Regions from separate parts of the Homo sapiens genome. Here all the other regions are linked to region 2. The links are contacts of gene promoters, found by promoter capture Hi-C in blood cells and fetal thymus (Javierre and others, 2016). All regions are on one chromosome and are shown on one strand. The core of a region is centred on a gene start or on the middle of the fragment in contact, and the rest is flanking DNA. Distances in the headings are between cores, read along the strand shown. Region 1 overlaps SETD2 (SET domain containing 2, histone lysine methyltransferase). Region 2 holds the start of KIF9 (kinesin family member 9). Region 3 overlaps SETD2 (SET domain containing 2, histone lysine methyltransferase).

Region 1 (3,946 bases), core at 65-2,564, 170 kb before region 2:
TTACCTCAATTAAAACCCTATCTGGTATCCAATTACATTAAGTCAACCTGGACTGCCTTCTCTTCCTACAACTGGGAGATTTCCTAAAACTACAGGGGTTTTGGTAATAACCTGCTTTTTTGGTGGGGTCTGCCATGGCACTTTAACACTAACTAGTAACTTAGCTCCAAATAATTTCTCATCCTGTGTAGCTCTGACAATCTGTCCTTATTAAATGGTAATACTCTACCAGTAAACAACGCAAGAGTTTTGACTAGTTTATGAAATTCATAAACTATTGGTATTACACATCATCATGTGGCAGTTATAGGAGTAGGAAGGTATGGGAAACATGGAAACATTAAGTCCTAGTATATTTTACCAAAGCAGGGTTCTCTGTGAATAGCTGAAGAAAACGGAAGAGCTTTAGGAAATTTTAACCTGGCTTATAAACTGGAGCCATATATCCTTTCCTCCCTTCCCCAGTCTCCTTTCCCCTTAATATGAGAAGAGCACTGAGCTATCAAAGAGTGTCTGTTGCAAGTAACAGAATTTAGATCAGGTTTGAAGCTATGTGTTTTACTGCAGATACCACAAAAGACCAGCATCCAGACAGCTCATCCACTATTGTCCCTGTAAGAGAGGCTTGTGTCCAAACTGTGGTTCCTTTAAAAAAAAAAAAAAAAAAAAAAAAAAAAAAAATCTCAAGAAGGCCTGGCTGGCTAGGGCAGAATGAAAGAAGGCATCTTTGAAAATGTGCGTCTGGACTAGAACTAGTGATTTTGGAAATTCAATGGGCTGCTTTGAGAGGTATTGAGTTCTGTATCAACAGTGTTCAAAGGAAGTGTAACCAATTATTTGTTTAAAATATTATAAAGAATCCAATGAATGGATATGGGGCATATGACAATTCTGTGGGATATTTGCTTCAAATAAACAATTAAAAACCAGTTATGAGAAGCCTAGGCAACATAGTGAGGACCCCATCTCTACAAAAAATAGAAAAATAAAGTAGCTGGGCATACTGGCTCACACTTATAGTCTCAGCTACTCAGAAGGCTGAGGCAGGAGGATAAATTGAGCCTGGGAGGTCGACACTGCAGTGAGCTATGATTGCGCCAGGATACTCCAGCGAGGGTGACAGGGCAAGACCCTGTCTCAAAAAAATAAAAAACAATAAAAACCAGTTATGAGCCAGGGTGTGTTTTTACAAAACTTAGAGGAGAAGAGAAATCTATGAGGTTCCTACTAGCCCCCTTTTTGTGTAACAAAACATGTTGCTTTCTGATTGGTTCCCAAAAGGATAGATTAATATCAACATCATTTCTTATCTTCAAAGGAAAAAAAAAAAAAGAACAATTTGCTTATCAAAAGATATATGAGGATTCCTGTCATAAAACTAAATTATTGCCAAGGGGAAAACAGTGAGAAAAAAAAATTATTGTCTTTATTACCTGTGTTTTGAATTCCCACAATAAACAGATTAAACCCCACCAAGTCCTGCCCCAACTCCAACTCCCATCCAACTGTGGCCATATGCTCAGAGGGTTCTGAAAGAATAGTTATGTCTAAGTTACTAGAATCCAGCAAATGTTTTATTTCCTTCCATTTTTTCTTTTATATATTTTTTAAATGTTTCAACCATAAACACATGTAATCTGTTTATATTTAACTTCAAAGAGGCACTTGACCTTCATTAAGAATACTTTTTTTTTTTTTTTTTGGAGACAGTCTCGCTCTGTCCCCCAGGCTGGAATGCAGTGCCATGATCTCGGCTCACTGCAACCTCCTCCTCGTGGGTTCAAGCAAATTCTTCTGCCTCAGCCTCCCGAGTAGCTGGGATTACAGCTGTGCGCCATCATGCCTGGCTAATTTTTGTTTTGTTTTTTGAGACAGAGTTTCACTCTTGTCACCCAGGATGGAGTACAATGGCGCAATCTCGGCTCACTGCAACCTTCGCTTCCCCGGTTCAAGAGATTCTCCTGCCTCAGCCCCTCAAGTAACTGGGATTATTGGTGCCTGCCACCACATCCAGCTAATTTTTGTATTTTTAGTAGTGACAGGGTTTCACCACATTGGCCAGGCTGGTCTTGAACTCCTGACCTCAGGTGATCTGCCCACCTCGGCCTCCCAAAGTGCTGGGATTACAGGCGTGAACCACCACGTCCAGCGTAATTTTGGGTTTTTTGTTTGTTTTCGAGATGGAGTCTTGCTCTGTCTCCCAGGCTAGAGGGCAGTGGCATGATCTCGGCTCACTGCAACCTCCACCTCCCAAGTTCAAGCGATTCTCCTACCTCAGCCTCCCAGGTAGCTGGGATTATAGGCGTGCGCCACCACACCCATCTAATTTTTGTATTTTTAGTAGAGACGGGGTTTCGCCATGTTGGCCAGGCTGGTCTCGAACTCCCGACTTCAGGTGATCCACTCACCTTGGCTTCCCAAAGTGCTGGGATTACAAGCATGAGTCACCATGCCCGGCCAAGAATACTTTAAATATGCTATATATAAGAAAATTAAACATTTCCAGGAAATACTGAATATGGTAGAAAATAAAGTGAACCTTTTGCTGTATTACATTAAAAACTTACATCAGTTACATGGAAAGCAACATTTATTCATTCAAGAAATGTTTAATGATTATCTATCAAGTATGTTTTAATTCTTAACCTTGATATGCTCAGGTATTCTCTTCTACTCTTTTTTTTTTTCTTTAAGAGACAAGAGATCACTGCCATCCAGGCTAGAATGCAGTGGCGTGATCACAGCTCACTGTAACCTTGAACTCCCAGGCTCAAGCAGTCCTCCCACTTAGCTTCCCATAGCGCTGAGATTACAAGCATGAGCCACTGCACCTGGCCTTCTCTTCTACTCTTATCCCAACTCAATTTTATGTATACTAATGGATTCTGTCCCAACTTCTTTTTATATAGCTTCATAGAGATTCTGGGGGTCCACAGTAAACACTTGGTAGTTGCTTGGAATTAAAGAAAACATAATTACCAAAAAAGAAAAAAAGATTTTTTAACAACAAACTAGCTACCAAGTGGTCATTCTACATAATAATCATCATTAAACCTCAGTGTAATAAAGAAATTGTTTCCCTACAAAAACATCTAAGTTCAACAACACAAAAATGAAGTGAAGCCCAGGCGCGACGGCTCACACCTGTAATCCCAGCACTTTGGGATGCCAAGGTGGGCGGAAAACTTGCGGTCAGAGTTCGAAACCAGCCTGGCCAACATGGTGAAACAACGTCTCTACCAAAAAAATACAAAAAAAATTAGCTGGGCATGGTGGCATGAGCCTGTAGTTCCAGCTACTTGAGAGGCTAAGGCAGGAGAATTGCTTGAATCCGGGAGGTAGAGGTTCCAGTGAGCCAAGATCGTGCCACTGCACTCCAGTCTGGGTGAAAGAGTGAGACCTTGTCTCAAAAAAGGAAGTGAAAGGTAATTAAAAAAGAACTTACGAAGGAAGGTCTTTGGCAGCTCTCAAGCCCCAGCCTTTCTTTTCTGTGAGTATGACTTCCACATCTGCATGCTGTTTTCTCTGAAACCGTCTATTGGAACAATAATCCCCATTTGGACACCGAGAAGAACTGAAATGAGAAAAGGAGGAAATTTAATTCTTTAAAGCAGCAAAAGAACCAAAGTAACTTTGAAAAAATGTGTTAGTATAACTACATATATACATACTTTTATGGTATAATTAGCATATGTATGACTAACCCCCAACTAAGTCTTCCTTTCCTTCCATCACAAAGGGATTCCTTAGAACTGAGTATCTACATTGTTACTTAAACAGATCATACCCACAATACAGCCTTGATATCTGGTCATCACAGAAATATCTACCACTCCCTAGGTGTCTAGAATACATTTTCAGGCTGCATGTAAGCTTTCAGTACATTGACAACTCTGCAGAACTTATATTCTGTAAGTGCACCTTCCCTTCCTTCTACTCTAATCAC
Region 2 (4,013 bases), core at 358-2,857:
ACTACTGAGAGAGTCCCAAGGGGCATATGATGTCACTCCCCTTCCATGACAACTCCAACCAAAGCCCACAGCCCTTCCAGGAGGACACTTGGTTTCCAGGTGCAAAAATCCACATCCAGCACCTCACCACACGCTTTTTTTGTTTTTGTTTTTGTTTTTTGTTTATTTGTTTTTGTGACAGGGTCTCACTCTGTCACCTAGGCTGGAGTGCAGTGAAACAATCTCGGTTCACCGTAGCCTCCACATCCTGGGTTCAAGCGATCCTCCCACCTCAGCCCCGCAAGTAGCTAGGACTACAGGCGTGCACCACCACGCCCGGGTAATTTTTGTATTTTTCGTAGAGACAGGGTTTCGCCATGTTGCCCAGGCTGGTCTTGAACTCCTGAGCTCAAGCAATCCGCTCACCTCAGCCTCCCAAAGTGCTAGGATTACAGGCGTGAGCCACGGCGCCCGGCCCCCTCCCTTTCTCCCTCAGGACCTTGTGGGGAATGTCTCTCCTTGGGGAACCACCCTTTGATATTTCTGGTATAACAAAGCAAGTCTCTGAATGGCCACCAGGAGACTTCTGTGTTAAGGCGCTCGAGGTTTCCTCATTTGTCTTTAGTGGGAATGAACAGAATTGGCAACAAGCAGCCATGAAGACTAGACAAGAGGAAAGGGAGCGTTTGGTGGGGTGGAAGGCACCAGGTGGGTCCCTATCTTCCAGTGCTCCCGTCCAGATGAGGGGCTGTCATGGGGAACCCTCATAGCTACCCGTAGCGGCAGCACCAACACCCGAATCCAAAACACTGGGTCCAACTGCACCTGGCCTTGGCTGAACAAGACTAGGATGCAGGCAAAACTAGACTTTCTCCTTTTTCTCACCCAATGTGCCGGACCCCCGCGTGGAGCCTGGGCGGCAGTGGGCTTTGGACCCATTCCGGTCCCTCTCTGGAGAGGTTTCCTCACCTGTAACACGAAGGGCTCCGACTGGTGATCCCAAAGCCCCCTCTAGTTCGAAAACTGACTAGTACGGAAGAGTCCAGACGACCTCTGGCTCCCTGCCTCACGGCCTCTATGTCCTGGACGCGACGTGGGACCCCTTTGTGGGACCAATGAACATTAGCTCCGAAGACCGTAAGCCGCGGTCAGGTTGAAAGGACTCCCGCGACGTCGAGCCCTCCTTCGCCTGGGTTTCAGAGATGAGCGACCCAGCTGGGAACCCCCAGATAAAGCGGTTTTTGGACCCCAGCCACTTTCAGCAGTCCGGGCGCACACCCTTTTCCCGTCTCCCCACTCCCACCGGCGAGCAGCCCCTGCTCACCGTTCACCAGGCAGCGACGCTCCCGGGACGCGACTGCCGCAACCGAAACCACCTGCACTCCCCACGCGGGGCTGCCTGGCTGTGTACATAGTCGCCATGGCAACGGGTCGCTTCCGGGGATTCCGGAAGTGTCGGGGTGGCGGAAATGAAGTCCGAGGTCCTACGTCGAGGATACGGGTGAGGTCATGGCCGAATCGGGAAGACGAGAGATGGGGCCGATTGATCTAGAAAGACTTCGGCGGATGCACATGCGAAGTCAAGGTCGAGATAGCGAGGGAACGAAGGCCGCACATGAACCAGGAAGCGGAGTGGCGGGGCTTCCGGCGCCGAGGAGATTCAACTACGGCGGCCGCGGAGGCCCGTCCGATTGCTGCTCCGCGCTCCGAGCGGCTGTCGGCGTGCGCTATCGCCCCGCCCTGGTTAGTGTCTAGCCGGCCGGCGAGGCCTGCGCAGTTGCAGCGGCCGGGGAAGATGGTGGAGGACGGCGCGGAGGAGCTGGAGGATCTGGTGCACTTCTCCGTGTCTGAGTTGCCTAGTCGCGGCTACGGCGTCATGGAGGAGATCCGGCGGCAGGGCAAGCTGTGCGACGTGACCCTCAAGGTACCGCGGACTGGGCGGCAGCGGGCTGAGGGAAAAGGGGTCGAGCGGGGAGTAAAAAGGGGCGGGGGACAGAGAAAGAGAGGTCTAGCAGGGAGAGGGGTGGGGAGAAGAGGTGTGAGGGGGGCCGAGTAGTGGGGAGAGAGGTGCCGAGCAAAAGGGGATCGGGGCCGAGTGGGGAGAGGAAGAGGACAACCTTTCAGCCCTTGAAAGGAAAGGTTGAGAGGTGCGCCGCTTAGGCCCTTGGAGTGGGAGACACGGGTGACAGCCTCCTTTTTCTGTCATGCAGACAAGAGAAAATGGACTTACCTTCTATGGAGGCAGGGGCGGTGGCCGGCTCCACATGCTGATGGGCACCACTGAAGAACCTTCTCTTGTCACTACAGATATTTCTTTGTGCCTGTCGAACTTGGCTGTGCTGTTCTAGAAGAGAAGGCTTCTCCTTAGGAATCATTGCCCTTAATTGTTGAATTACTACTTTGTCTCTTAAGAGCTTTTAAAATCTTCTCTGGAAAATTTTTGAGGTGGGAAGCCACCCTGCCCCATACTGGAAGGCACCACTCACCACCACAAAGGTCCCCGGGGCTGGGCCTGCTGGCCGCGTGGGGAGAGGGATGCTGACTGATATTAAGAGGGAAAGATATCTTAACCACCTGTTCCCCACCAGCATTCTGGTCGCTAGAGCCAGCCTCCCTCCTGTGCCTGGGTCTTTTCATGAGGAAGAGGCATGCTGTGCTGCTGCCTGGCCAAGCCACCGAACCATGTGGAGACGTCCGGTTGGGGAGATGATCAGTGGGGCTCCCTGTTGGGCTTTAGCTGGAAAGCTCTCAGCATCTGTGCGTGATCCCTGTTTAAAAAACAAACAGGGCAGGCATGGTGGCTCACACCTGTAATCCCAGCACTTTGAGAGGCGAGAGGATCACTTGAGTGGGGGAATTGGAGACCAGCCTGGGCTATGTAGGGAGACCCTGTCTCTACAAATAATAAAAAATTGTCTGGGCATGGTAGCCTGTGCCCGTAGTCCCAGCTACTCAGGAGGGTGAGGTGGGAGGATCGCTTGAGCCTAGGAGGTCAAGCCTGCAGTGAGTTGTAATCACACCACTGCACTCCAGCCTGGGCAACACAGCAAGATCCTATTTCTCCTATTTCTCTCTGTCTCTCTCACACACACACACACACACAAATAAATAAATAAAAGAAAAAATAAAACTATGCAGAGATTCTTTTGCTCTTCTTTTCTTTTTTCTTTTTTTTTTTTTTTTTGAGACGGAGTCTCGTTCTGTTGCCCAGGCTGGAGTGCAGTGGCGCTATCTTGGCTCACTGAAACTCTCTCTCCTGGGTTCAAGCGATTCTCCTGCCTCAGCCTCCCCAGCAGCTGGGACTACAGGCGCGCACCACTACCCCTGGCTAATTTTTTCTATTTTTAGTAGAGACAGGGTTTCACCATGTTGCTCAGGCTGGTCTCGAACTCCTGAGCTTCAGCAGTCTGCCTGTCTCGGCCTCCCAAAGTGCTAGAATTACACGCGTGAGTCACCGCGCCCAGCCTGCTCTTCTTATTTTCTACATGGTTAAGGAAACTTTTCTTCTGCAACATAGTTGAGTCAGACCTCTGGAGATGGTAGAGTAGGATGGTTGAGTATGGCTTTGAAAGCAGAAGGATTTGGATTAAAATCCTAGTTGTAACCTTGAGCAAGTTACTTAATCTCTGTAAGCCTCGGTTTTTTTGCTTTTATTTTTATTTTTTTGAGACAGAGTCTCGCTGTGTGGCACAGGCTGGAGTGCAGTGGCATGATCTTGGCTCACTGCAACCTCCACCTCCTGGCTTCAAGCCAGTCTCCTGCCTTAGCCTCCCAAGTAGCTGGGACTACAGGCGCCCGCCACCACGCCCGGCTAATTTTTGTGTGTGTTTTTAGTAGAGACAGGGTTTCACTACGTTAGCCAGACTGCTCCTGACCTCGTGATCCGCCCACCTCAGCCTCCCAAAGTGCTGGGATTACAGGCGTGAGCCACCAAGCCCGGCCCTTTTCATCATTCTAAACCCCTCCTGAAGGAGGTTGTTTTTCCAGGAGAGGAGTGAAGTGATCTGAGAAGGCGTGAGATCTTCTCATATGGG
Region 3 (4,162 bases), core at 124-2,623, 210 kb before region 2:
CCTTCAGAGGAATCTCATAATATTAACCACACCTGTGGCCTCCTCTCCACAATTGTTGCTTCTCACAATATTTGTGAAAAATAATAAGCCACATGTCACACAACTGAGGAAAGGTCATGATGTAATATTCAGTTGCCATTAAAAAGGATCAATATGGACTGCACAGATCCAGGGAAATCTATATAAATGAAAAATTTTTTTAAACCTCCAATACTATATGCATGCTGACAAATTAATAAAGATGATTATAATTAATTGTGCACTTATACTGTGTGCCAGATATCATGCTGAACATTTCAAATACACTATCTTTTTTTTTTTTTTTTTTTTTGAGACGGAGTCTTGCTCTGTCATCCAGGCTGGGGTAAAGCGGCACAATCTCAGCTTACTGCAACCTCTGCCTCCTGGGTTCAAGCAATTCTCCTGCCTCAGCCTCCTGAGTAGCAGGGATTATAGGCACACACCACCATGCCCAGCTAATTTTTGTATTTTTAGTAAAGACAGGGTTTCACCATGTTAGCCAGGTTGGTCTCGAACTCCTGATCTCATGATCTTCCCACCCTGGCCTCCCAAAGTGCTAGGATTACAGGCGTAAGCCACTGCGCCCGGCCTATCTTTTTGTTTTGTTTTGTTTTTTGAACCGGGGTCTCTGTCGCACAGGCTGGAGTGCAGTGGTGCGATCTCAGCTCATTGCAACCTCCACCTCCCAGGTTCAAGCGATTCTCCTTAGCCTCCCCAGTAACTGGGATTACAGGTGCATGCCACCATGCTTGGCTAATTTTTGTATTTTTAGTAGAGATGGGGTTTCATCATGTTGGCCAGACTGGTCTCGAACTCCTGACCTCATGATCTGCCCACCTTGGCCTCCCAAAGTTCTGGGATTACAGATGTGAGCCACCGCACCCGGCCCTTCAAATACATTATCTTATTTGAGCTTCAAAACGACCCTATGAGGTAAGTACTATTACCTCAATTTTCCAAAAAGGAAACTTACTTAAAAAGCTTAGCAATCTACCCAAGGTTATGATGCTACCAGACAGTCTAACTCAAGAGCACTTTTATCTTCTGTATTAGATGACACAGGACATGCCTAACAACATTATTTTGAGAAGGAGTACCATTCTGAGATTTATGCACAAATGCAGGTGACATCCTCCATCCCCTTAACCTCTCCTTCCTATGTAGAAGAACTTTCATTAGAGCTGTGATTCTCTACCCTGGTTGTACAATTAAACCACCCAAGAAGCGTTCATGGAAATACCACCCCAGACAAAGTGAATCTAAATCTCTGGATGTGGATGCCAGACATGCGTATTTTTTAGAAGCTCCTCAGATGATTCTGATGCACAGAGAAGGCTGAGAACTACTGAACTACTGGCTATTCTTATCCTCACCCACCCCTCCCCACAAGAGAGAATCTGGGAGAAAAAACTAGGTAGGCCTGCCCTCAGCTAAGAGACATCTGGGCTCTCTTTTCTCTTGATCTGCTTTTGCCTTTAGAGAGGGGGTACATTCCCATCTGCTACTATGAGGGACATCTGAAGTTACTGAGTTGTCAATTTCTAGCTGTGGGTAATACTGAATCAGGAATAAAGACAGGAAGGAGCAAGCTGGCACTCTTAGTTCTGTGTGTCTTACTCCTCTGTCTGCCTCTCAGAGGGGTTATTAGACAGGAAAAAGTAAGAACGCCATTTATTACCATCTACCCACACTATAAGGGAAAAAAGGTATTCTGCTAATTTTAAGAAGCTTGGAAATGACATTTGCATTAGGTACTCTGTAAACCTAGGCACTCCAAAAGACAGCAGGTTCATTCACAAAAGGTACTTAGAATTGGTGTATTGAGGGTCCCACTAAGAATAACACAATTTTGACCTAGTTTCTTTTGCATAATATCTTGGCATTATAAGCATTTATTACAAAAATTTAAAGTAATTTATTACATAGGCCTCAAGTTGGGGACCCACTCTGTAGCGGCAGTTAATGTACCACCAGAAACGCTTCTCAAAGATAAATTCTTAGTTACGTTCAAAAGTTTAGATCAACTACTAAGTTGAAAATGTATTTTGATGTTCACAAAATAATGATTACTACTGACTAATGACCAGGAGCTACTATTTACTGTGTGCCTAATCACATGAGAAACAATTTCTATCAATATGTACCTAAGCACTTGGAGCTGCTAACTTGATCCTCTCTCTTTCTAGTCAAGGCTACATACAAAATTTAAGCTGGCAACTCAAATTACCTACTGTCTCCTCCTTATTTTATATATTAAGAGAATGGGGTCCTGAAAATACAACTGAAGTTTTCCAAAGTCCCACAACATTGAAAGCTGAGAAGGAAGCAGCCACGCGAGGATAACTTTGACATTTCTTAAGATCATTCTGTCTTGTGAATAATAGTATTAGTCTCAGTGATACTTGAGTCTGTCTGGAATAATGTCACATCCATAGGCCACAGAGTCTGTTACAGAAAATGTTTAAATTGGCTTCATTCATGTTAACCCTTAATGTAAGATCACCTTACTTTGTTAAATATTCCACTCAAGAGACTGGCATACTATAACAGAAGATTTCAAAATGATAATTATATGATCTGCCAAACAAGGGAGAATAGAATAAGGACATTTTTCAGATCTATAAGGTCTCAAAATGTTATTTACTGGAAGAGAATACTGAAGACAATACTGTGGATGTTCTAAGATTTAATATTGTGTGTGTATATGTGTGTATAGCGATGGGGTCTTGCTCTGTTGCCCAGGCTGGTCTCAAACTCCTGGCCTCAAGTGATCCTCCTGTCTTAGCCTCCCGAAGTGCTGGAAGCCATCATGTCCAGTGCAGTGGTGTGATCATAGCTCACTGCACCCTCAAACTCCCATGCTCAAGGGATGCTTTGATCTTCAGCTTCCCAAGTAGCTGGCCTACAGGTGCGTGCCACTATGCCTGGCAGGTTTGATATTCTGTAAGTTAGGTTCTAGGACTGCTCTTGCCCTCAGACAGACCTAAAAGAATCTGCTTCCACACTCCATCTGATACTTTTTACATATTGTCCTCTTATTTCTTTAGTGTCTAGGTGCAAACCTCAACTAACACACAATTCATACACACTCAAGCTATAATTATTATGGGCCCATACTGTCTTATTCTTTATTGTATCTCTAGCACCAAGAACAGTGTCTGGCACATAATCAACACTCAATTCCTTTCTGAATGGACCAACAAGTGAAATTCTACTTCTAATTTATAGAAATCACCTACACAGTGCTACATAAACTCAAAATACTGCATATACCCTACGCTTTTATCCCTGGAAAGAACTACTGTTTAAAGGCCTCACCTACAGCCCAAAACATTGTGTTTCCAGGGTCAGAGTGATAAATATACATTTGAAATTCAGGAAACAGGCTAAAGCAAAAGATCACAATTTGGGGAAATTTAAGAAACAATAACATATAGTGATACTGCTGGAGATTGCCCAGACACAAAACATACAGAAAAAAAAAAACAAATAAAAGTAAAAGGTAGAAAGTCTTTAACTCGAAATAGTATGTTCCATATAGTATGTTTTCTATTAATAAACACTTGAACAAGTTACCTACTACTACCAGGTCACATGGCTTACTTTACAACGTTTTCTTATGACAGGCTCAAAAGGTACTCATTGGAAGCAATGCAGCACTTCATTAATACATCCCAAATAAACTCTAAAAATATACTGTAGAAACAGGATTAAAACAAAATTATTAAATAATTTATAAGAAATCTTTTTCTGACAAGAAAAAGGTTACCACTGGTTTAGACTGTTCCTGAGCTAAACAACACTTATAAGAACAAAATAATTGGTGGGGCGCAGTGGCTCACGCTTGTAATCCCAGCACTTTGGGAGGCCGAGGCGGGCAGATCACGAGGTCAGAAGATCGAGACCATCCTGGCTAACACGGTGAAACCCCGTCTCTACCAAAAATACAAAAAATTAGCCAGGCCTGGTGGCGGGTGCCTGTAGTCCCAGCTACTGGGGAGGCTGAGGCAGGAGAATGGCATGAATCCGGGAGGCGGAGCTTGCAGTGAGCTGAGATCACGCCACTGCACTTCAGCCTGGGCGACAGAGTGAGACTCTGTCTCAAAAAAAAGAACAAAATAATTTACAGGCGCAAGATTTC

The links. The method cuts DNA at HindIII sites, captures the fragments that hold promoters and counts their contacts. A CHiCAGO score of 5 or more calls a contact.
Region 1: a contact is called between a fragment that was not itself captured here and the fragment with the promoter of KIF9 in region 2, in 2 of 17 cell types (naive B cells and total B cells). The highest score is 5.9, in naive B cells.
Region 3: a fragment that was not itself captured here is called in contact with the fragment with the promoter of KIF9 in region 2 in 2 of 17 cell types (endothelial precursors and naive B cells); the score reaches 5.5 in endothelial precursors.

The regions. Positions count from the first base shown.
Region 1 is chr3:47,110,431-47,114,376 of GRCh38, forward strand. It overlaps SETD2 (SET domain containing 2, histone lysine methyltransferase), which reads right to left. Exons shown (of 21, transcript NM_014159.7): 5 at 3,446-3,574. Among named protein-coding and RNA genes, the nearest start is that of SETD2, 52 kb to the right of the region's middle. RefSeq lists enhancers at 3,280-3,787, 3,788-3,946. The HindIII fragment of the contact is 5,114 bases long and covers 1-3,871 here.
Region 2 is chr3:47,281,192-47,285,204 of GRCh38, forward strand. KIF9 (kinesin family member 9) reads right to left here and starts at 1,608. Exons shown (of 21, transcript NM_182902.4): 1 at 1,304-1,608. It overlaps KLHL18 (kelch like family member 18), which reads left to right and starts at 1,753. Exons shown (of 10, transcript NM_025010.5): 1 at 1,753-1,903. The coding sequence starts at 1,775. RefSeq lists enhancers at 932-2,131, 1,347-1,736. The HindIII fragment of the contact is 6,231 bases long and covers 1-4,013 here.
Region 3 is chr3:47,068,184-47,072,345 of GRCh38, forward strand. All of the region lies in intron 12 of SETD2 (SET domain containing 2, histone lysine methyltransferase), which reads right to left. Among named protein-coding and RNA genes, the nearest start is that of NBEAL2, 91 kb to the left of the region's middle. The HindIII fragment of the contact is 747 bases long and covers 1,001-1,747 here.